Regions from separate parts of the Homo sapiens genome. Here all the other regions are linked to region 2. The links are contacts of gene promoters, found by promoter capture Hi-C in blood cells and fetal thymus (Javierre and others, 2016). All regions are on one chromosome and are shown on one strand. The core of a region is centred on a gene start or on the middle of the fragment in contact, and the rest is flanking DNA. Distances in the headings are between cores, read along the strand shown. Region 1 overlaps AFG2B (AAA ATPase AFG2B). Region 2 holds the start of SHF (Src homology 2 domain containing F). Region 3 has its middle 2.9 kb from the start of AFG2B.

The links. Contacts are between HindIII fragments. The CHiCAGO score rates a contact against its expected background, and 5 or more counts as called.
Region 1: a fragment that was not itself captured here is called in contact with the fragment with the promoter of SHF in region 2 in 1 of 17 cell types (M2 macrophages); the score reaches 6.2 in M2 macrophages.
Region 3: a contact is called between a fragment that was not itself captured here and the fragment with the promoter of SHF in region 2, in 16 of 17 cell types (naive CD8 T cells, monocytes, naive CD4 T cells and 13 more). The highest score is 18.0, in naive CD8 T cells.

Annotation. Positions count from the first base shown.
Region 1 is chr15:45,417,139-45,420,025 of GRCh38, reverse strand. AFG2B (AAA ATPase AFG2B) reads right to left here. Exons shown (of 8, transcript NM_024063.3): 6 at 2,627-2,757; 7 at 1,344-1,469. Among named protein-coding and RNA genes, the nearest start is that of COXFA4L3, 12 kb to the left of the region's middle. The HindIII fragment of the contact is 9,891 bases long and covers 1-2,887 here.
Region 2 is chr15:45,186,576-45,189,536 of GRCh38, reverse strand. It overlaps SHF (Src homology 2 domain containing F), which reads left to right and starts at 1,571. Exons shown (of 7, transcript NM_001394037.1): 1 at 1,571-2,083. The coding sequence starts at 1,586. LOC124903481 (a long non-coding RNA gene) reads right to left here. Exons shown (of 2, transcript XR_007064608.1): 2 at 719-1,422. RefSeq lists a silencer at 1,627-1,676 and an enhancer at 2,591-2,961. The HindIII fragment of the contact is 22,026 bases long and covers 1-2,961 here.
Region 3 is chr15:45,397,991-45,400,792 of GRCh38, reverse strand. It overlaps a transcript of GATM not described here. Among named protein-coding and RNA genes, the nearest start is that of AFG2B, 2.9 kb to the left of the region's middle. The HindIII fragment of the contact is 2,722 bases long and covers 1-2,654 here.

The DNA of each region.
Region 1 (2,887 bases), core at 122-2,621, 230 kb before region 2:
TTTGTTTTTTGTTTTTTTTTTTTTTTTTGGGGGGGGGGGACAGAGTCTTGCTCTGTCACCCAGGCAGAAGTACAGTGACACAATCATGGCTCACTACAGCCTTGACCTCCAGGCTCAAGTGATCCTCCCACCTCAGCCTCCTGAGTAGCTGGGACAATTTTTTAAAAGTTTTTGTAGAGACAGGGTCTCCCCATGTTGCCCAGGTTGGTCTCAACTCCTGGGCTCAGATGATCCTCCTGCCTTGGCCCCAACAAAATGCTGGGATTACAGGCATGAGTCACTAAGCCCAGCCAATAGTTCTCTTTTGGAAGAAGGTAGGTGACAGAGGTTGGGAAAGGGCCCAAAGGAAGATTCTGGGGTGTTTATAATGTTCTATTTCTTGACATAAGTAGTGATTATAAAAATGTGATCACTTTAATTCAATGAACTGTACCCTTATGATCCGTGCATTTTTCTGAATGTTATATTTAGTAAAAGTTTACGAAAAAGGGTATCTTAGAGTGGTTTACAAGGACCCGTGTGTCCTGGCCATTGTCTACTCCTTCAGCTTTTTTTTTTTCCTAAGAGACAGAGTCTCACTCTGTCACCCAGGCTGGAGTGCAGCGGCACGATCTCATCTTACTGCAACCTTCGCTTCCCAGGCTCAAGCAATCCTCCCATCTCCCCCTCCCAAGTAGCTGGGACTACTAGTCCCCCACGTAGCTGGGACTAACACCACATTTGACTAATTTTTTATTTTTTCTAGAGATGGGGTCTCACTGTATTACCCAGGCTGATCTTAAACTCCTGGGCTAAAGCAATCCTCTCGCCTTGGCCTCCCAAAATGCTGGGATCACAGGCACGAGCCACCACGCCTAGCCCACTTCTTTCGCTTTATTTCTTGCCATTCTCCACTCTAAGATTCAATAATGTCACACCATCTCTTATCTTCAATCCTTTGCACATTTTATTCTCTCCACCTCAAACATTCCCCCTTCCCTTCTTAGCTGGCTAACTCCCGATTTGTCCTTCCAATTTCAGTTTATACATCTCCTTTCTCAGAAAGCCTTCTCTGATGTGCCAAATCTGGGCTGGTGTCTTTCCTAGGTGCTCCCACAGTACCCTCTACTTCCGCAACTCACTACATATTTTCAATTGCCAACTCAGTATTAAGATTTGCCTCTCTGCACCACCCTCCTCACCACCCCACACTTACAATAAGCTGTGTGAGGGATGGGGCCACATCTGTCTGTTTCACATCACATGGTACCACACAGGCTTTTAGTAAATACTGCTGAGTGAATGAAGATTTGAAAAGATGCAGAAATGTTTTGAACCACAAATTTCTTCAATAATTAACTTACTTCTGTGCAGAGGTTTCTAAGATCAGCTCCAGAAAAAAAACAGGTTTCTGCTGCGAGGTTTTCTAAGGAGACATCAGGCCCTATTGGCATGGTTTTTGTACAGACTTTTAAAATAGAAAGCCTGCCCTGGAACAAAATAAAAAACAGTATTTTAAATCTTATAACATTTATGTTTGACACAATGATTTATTAAAATATTTTTAGCTTGAGTTTCCTTTCACATTACCGAGAAAATATATATAGGGGTTAGAAAGACTAAGTCATCAATGGCTTATATGACAATGGTAAAAATAACGACATCATAAAAAACTTATGAATCTTTTTTTTTTTTTTTTTTTTGAGATGGAGTCTCGCTCTGTCACCCAGGCTGGAGTACACTGGCACGATCTTGGCTCACTACAACCTCCACCTCCCGGGTTCAAGTGATTCTCCTGTCTCAGCCTCCCAAGTAGCTGGGATTACAGGCGCCTGCCACCACATCCAGCTAATTTTTGTATTTTTAGTAGAGATGGGGTTTCACCATGTTGGCCAGGCTAGTCTCGAACTCCTGACCTCTGGTGATCTACCCGCCTTGGCCTCCCAAAGTGCTGGGATTACAGATGTGAGCCACCACGCCCGGCTAAATCTCTCTCTTGGGTACAAATAATACTATCAGACATGGCTTAAGAAGCAAATACATGAATTATCAGATACAACTTAAAGGTATAATAGATATTAAATTTTATTTTTCTATCCCTTCAAAACTTGATAAAAGCCCAAGGAACAAAAAAATTCACTCTGTGCCTTTCACCCTCCCTGTCAGTGGCTCTGGATGTTAACGACAAAAAATGTACTGGTTGACCATGATACACTGCATAATCTCTGTAATCTCAGATTTCTGCACCGTACTTTACGGACAACAAATTTACTGGTTGACCACGATACACTGCATAATCTCTGTAATTTCAGACTTCTGCACTGTATGATAAGGATGCTGACTCAATCTTCAAAGCCCTTTTAACACTTTAGGATTCCTCCACTCTAGTTGCAAAATAACGCTGAGTAGACTCAGTATTTAGAGTCTGCCACAACACAAAAAATAACCACCATATATTTAGGCTTATGTTTCTCTGTGAACAAGATCAGAGTATCCAACAAAGGAAGATCAAAATTATGATGTCATGAAAGGCCACCAGGCAAGGAAGAAGGCGGAACCCAGGGTAAGTAGAACACCATGGACACCTATATCCAAGTTGGAATTCAATTCTGCTGAGCTCACACAGAGTAAATGTGTAAATGACTACCTTGTGATCTGGAGGTGGGATATAGATGATCTTATCTAATCTTCCAGGTCGTAACAAAGCAGTATCTAACACATCAGGTCTATTTGTTGCTGCAATAATCATGACACTTCGGTTAAAAACTTCTTGAAACTCTGAGGGCAAACACACAACACAAAGTAATGTCAATCAGTTGTTAATAAGTTTTCTAAAAATTATAAATCAGAAGGTCTATTTAAATTCAAATAGGGATATCCTTTTCTTGGGACCAGAATGCTTATATCC
Region 2 (2,961 bases), core at 322-2,821:
CACGCTTGTAATCCCAGCTACTAGGGAGGCTGAGCTGGGAGCATTGCTTGAACCCGGGAGGTGGAGGTTGCTGTAAGCTGAAATCGTGCCACTGTACTCCAGCGACGGAGTGAGACTCCGTCTCAAAAAAAAAAAAAAAAAAAAAAAGGCAGACATGAACCTAGGAGTGCGGAGACACTGAGGCAGTGGGGGAAAGGGGGTGGGGTAAAGTGAGGTGAGACAGCTGCTTTCCCAGCAGAGCCAAGAGCAAATGTGTTGGTGTTGGCTTCAGGCCTACATTTATGGTGAGGAACTGGCTTTATTTCTTTCCTTTTCTTTTTTCTTTTTCTTTTTTTTTTTTTTTTGAGACGGAGTCTCACTCTGTCGCCCTGGCTGGAGTGCAGTCGCGCAATCTCAGCTCAATGCAACCTCTGCCTCCTGGGTTCAAGCGATTCTCCTGCCTCAGCCTCCCGAGTAGCTGGGACTACAGGTGCCCGCCACCACACCCGACTAATTTTTTTGTATTTTTGGTAGAGACGGGGTTTCACCGTGTTAGCCAGGATGGTCTCGATCTCCTGACCTCGTGATCCTCCCGTTTCGGCCTCCCAAAGTGCTGGGATTACAGGCGTGAGCCACCGCGCCCAGCCGGAACTGGCTTTATTTCTAAGACAAAAATGCCTAGCACTTGAGCATCTGAGCCTCAAGAGGATAAGGAGTTTGTGATAGACAACACTGGGACTGTTTCTAGACTTGATTTATTGACTTGTCTGTTTCCATTCTGTTACTAATCTGATTGACAATGAAGCCCGGGATGTGGCTGGAAGGGATTTCTGCGTGCGTGCGCATGCTATCGTCAGGGCCATGTGGGCCCGTTTGGAGCAGGTGCTCCCGTGGGTGGGGGATGTTTGAGCGAGGGCTGTTTGCGTGTGAGAAGGGCGTGTGTGAAAACGACACGGGAGAAGTGGGCGTCTCTAGGGAGTTGTTTGTATGTGATGTGAGATGTGTTTGCCTGGATCGGGAAGTAACGTAGGTTCGGGTATGTGCAGTGCGTACGGTTGGATGGGAGGAGGTTGTGGGGCTCCCAAGGTAGCACGGGAGGAGGAGGCTTACAGACACATCTTACAGAACCTAGCCCCTTTTCTTGCCCGCCTAGATTTTCCTCCTAGATTATAGTTTCCCAGTTGCGAGATCCTGGGAGAGGGAAGAGGAGAGGCGTAAGGCTCCCTAGAGTCAGGAGTCTGGGGGCTCCCCTCTTTGCGTCTCGCACGAGCTGGGAGCTGGGGAAAAGAACAGATGGGGATGGATGCGCTCCCCACAGGGGACCGCGTGGCGACACGTAAAGGATTCAACCTCAGTCCAGTAGTCGCATCCTCTGCCCCAGGGCTGCCCACTTCACTTCTTGCCTGTGCATACCGGCTGGAAGCCCGCGTACACTCTTCCGAGCTACGGGAGGAGGAAGACCCTGTTAGGGAGCGGAGCCCCGCCTCTCCCTTGTTACTGAAGCGCCCCGCCCCCTCCCCGCCCGGCGGAGCCCCGCCCCCCTCCCCACCCCCGCCCCCGCCCCCCACCCGCCGCTGCGCTCCCCTCGCTCAGTCTGGCTGGCCCCATGTTACTGAGCGGAGCTCCTCCGGCTGGCTCCCGCCCGGGGCCGCGAACGCAGGGGAGCGCTGGGGGCGGCCCGGGGGGGTCCCGCCGGGGCGCCGGGGGTGCGGGAGCCGGCCCAGGAGGGGGCGGCAGCGGCGGAGTAGCCAAGTGGCTCCGGGAGCACCTGGGCTTCCGCGGGGGGGGCGGCGGCGGAGGGGGCAGCAAGCCGGCGCCCCCCGAGCCCGACTACCGCCCCCCTGCGCCCTCTCCGGCCGCGCCCCCCGCGCCGCCCCCGGACATCCTGGCCGCCTACAGGCTGCAGCGGGAGCGCGACTTCGAAGACCCCTACTCCGGGGGGTCGTCCGGCTCCGCCGCCCTCGCCACCCCTGTCGCCCCCGGACCCACGCCGCCCCCGCGCCACGGCTCTCCCCCACACCGCCTTATTCGGGTCGAGACCCCGGGGCCCCCGGCGCCGCCTGCTGATGAGCGGATCTCCGGACCCCCCGCCAGCAGCGATAGGGTGAGTGCCGCGCCGGGCCGGGATGGCCAGGAGGGAAGGCGGTCAGGGGTCTGGAGGCTGCGAGAGGGACAAAGGTGGCCTGGCCCGGGCCCCTCGGTGTCTCAGCTTCTGGCAGACGCGAGCCCCTGACCCCGGGGTTCCGAGCCTTCACCCACCTTTGTTCAGATTCTCAACCGACTAATCTGAGACGGAAGCCCCAAACTCTGCCCCTCTGCCCTATCCTTTGTAATGGCCCCAGAACTGGTGACCCTCCCCCTCCCGGGCTGGCTCTCCACTTCGTAGCCCCCTCTAGCCTGATCCATGAGCCTTTTGCTAACGGGAATTGAGGCGCACCTCCCAACCCCCACTGGTTGATGGCCTTTCTGCCCCTCTGGAAGCAGCGGCTCAGTGCCCTTTGATCTCTGACCCTTCCCCCTGGGCATAGCCAGCACAAAGCTCTTCCCTCCTGTTGCCTCTTTGCTTCCTCCTCCTCTTCCTCCTCCTGTTTCTCCAGCCTAAGCATCCTTGCAGGTGCTGAAGCCCCAGAAAGGAGGTGAAGACGGGTTTCTCCTTGCGGACACAGCACGAGCTGGCCTTTGCCCTATAGGCTGTTGTTCTCAGGAGGCGAAGACAGGCAGCTTACAGCTCTTGCCAAGGGGGCTTCGTGGGGTCCAGGCCCACTCCTCCCTCCTTCCCTCGTCCTCTCAGGTATGAGGATAGTCAGTGCTCAGGACCTGTTGCCCACATGGGGCTAAGCAGCTGAGCCCATTCCTCCTCTCCTCCTGGCCTCCCTCTCCCCCTGGTCCATTCTGAGGGAGGCTGGAGCTTTTCCTGGGTCTGCAGGCACCAGGATAGGGAGGAGAACAGGAAATCCACCATGCCTCAGGGCCCTGCCCTGA
Region 3 (2,802 bases), core at 44-2,543, 210 kb before region 2:
TCTCATGTAAAAGAGTTAGTAGATTTACTTATATTTACAGTGCAGAAATGGCCAAGAAGTAAAGGTTTAATGGAGTGGAATAACCAAAGCCAAAACAGGGAGCCAATAAAGTTAAATCGGCCTCAAAATTTTCTGAATTGGTTTAAAACAGAGGCACAAACTATGCTATTAGGAATATGATGAGAAGGAAACTACATGTTGCTTTTGGTTGGTCTAAGAGGTTGATTTTATACAAGGTCAAACAAGAACCCTCTGACCTTATAGAATCCATATGCACAGGAAATATTATTTCACTTCACTCTTTCTCTAAAAGATCCAGTCTTTACCATAGGTTGCAAACAAAAGCAACAAGGAATTCTGTTACTGGGCCTTCAGCTCTTATCCACTCACTCTGAGCAAAACTATAAATGTCTTTCCCAATCATCCAGTAAAATCCATTCTGTCCCTTTAGGTCTAACCATTTGCAACACTATGATTTCAGCCATCTGAACATCCATATTTATCATGCCATTCAATGACATAATCTCCTTGTGATAAACCATTCTTTTTATTTTTAAAATTTTATTTATTTTTTAGACAGTCTTGCTCTGTCACCCAGTCTTGAGTGCAATGGCAGGATCTCAGCTCACTGCAACATCTGTTTCCCAAGTTCAAGCAATTCTCCTGCCTCAGGCTCCCAAGTAGCTGGGATTACAGGTGCCTACCACCACGCCTGGCTAACTTTTGGATTTTTAGTAGAGATAGGGTTTTACCCTGTTGGCCAGGCTGGTCTCGAACTCCAGGCCTCAAGTGATCCACCTGCCTCAGCCTCCCAAAGTGCTGAGATTACAGGCATGAGCCACTGCACCTGGCCTCCTTGTGGTAAACCATTCTAATGGGAGTTGTGTGGCTCTTTTGCTTAGTTGTTTTTAATCTGACCAGAAATTTGTTAATTCTATGAATTGAAGAACATCAATTAAAGCACTAGAATTGAACCACTAGAGGGAGTCCAGAACCAACTAAGCCTGAAGGCTACAGGATTGTTAGGACGTTGGTGTTCTCAACTGTGGTTTCCACTCAATTTTCCCAGGATTCACACCTAGGTGTATGAAGCCATCTGTTGTCTCTATATATTATCTGGCTTAGTCTGTTCAGGCTGCTGTAACAAAATACTACGAACGAGGTAGCTTATAAATGACAGCAATTTATTTTTTACAGTTCTGGAGGCTGGGAAGTCAAAGACAAGGCACTGGCAGATTCCATGACTGGTAAGGGCCCCCTGTCTAGAGACAGCTCATTGTACCTGCACATGGTGGAAGGGACTAGCTAGCTCCCTCATGTTTCTTTTATAAGCACACTAATCCCATTCATGAGGGCTCCACTCTCGTGACCTAATCACCTCCCAAAAGGCCCTGACTCCTACTACCATCATCTCAAGGGTTAAAATTTCAACAAATGAATTTTGTGGAGGACACAAACACTGAGACCCTAGCAGTAACTGACTTATTTTCACATAATTTTTCACAAGCCTCAAGCTGTGTAAAACTCAGTTTCTAAGTTAAAATTTAATTTTTGTGTTAAGTATAAAAATGAGACTGTTCCTAAATCCAAAATTTAGTGGTAGGTCAAAATCCAAACCGATGGAATTCATCTTGCTATAGCCTAGAAACATTTCTAGCTTTAAATTGTTTCAAATAGCTTTGCCAAACAAAATCTTTTGTGAGATTTTCCCGAAAAGGTACATGTGACAAATGGTTTCTCTTTATGTCCTTTGTTACATTCAAGGTTACAATCTGTCTAATTTTTAATTAACTATAAAAATTCTTAATTAACTGTAAGTCTATAATTCAAAAGAAATAATTGGAATCTGTTTCTTTAGGATAATGATCATGCAATATTTTTGTCCCTTCAGCATATTATATATGTATATAAAAATATATTCCTGTATATGAAAAAAATCTAAAGAAAATGGTTAAACCAGTAGCATGAGTCATCTGTAGATTAAATAATGTTAATCTTTCCAGCATTTCCATTTTTGTGTTATGTTCAACCCTAATATATTTGAACATTAGCAATGACTATGAGTTGTAATAGATGAATAGAGATTTGTTTAGCCACCCTTGAAAAAGCATGATTTGCAAACACTTTCATCTCAACATGCTCATGTAGATGTAGTAAGTGACTTATTTCCACGGATAGCTAATATGCCGAACCTGTGTTCATAAAGTATGTAATGAAAATCCCCCTAAATGGGACATTGTTAAAATTGTTCTTTAGAATCTTCCATCTTTACTTTTTATCTTGTATCCAGGTTAGAATTAGTCTTTAGAGTAATTCTAGATATAGAATAAGTTATAGAATCAGAAGAAGGAGGATGAAAATATTTGCTGGATTTCAAATGACCTGCAGACTACAGTTCATAGAACATCATTCTGAAAGTCTGTTCTTGCACATTTTCAGGAAATTGCTTGATTCATCATTTTTTAGAAGTTAATGTTAAGGTAATTTTTCCCTATGATGTTGGTTCACACTTTTCAACAAACATAATAATTATATATTTATTAAAACAAATATTTATTGAACATCTACTTCTTGCTAGTTACTATACCAGAGGCTGAGTATTTGGTGGCAAACAACAACAATAAAAACACTGTAATCCTTGCCTTCATGAAGCTTATAGTCTACTGGGAAGTCAAACATTGAAGAAGTAAACAAGTGAATAAATCTGATAATTAAAGGTGATGAAAATTGCTTTGAAAGAAATAAACGGAAAAGGGCTACTTTAAACAGGTATTAAGGATAGGAAAAACAAAACAAATTGTT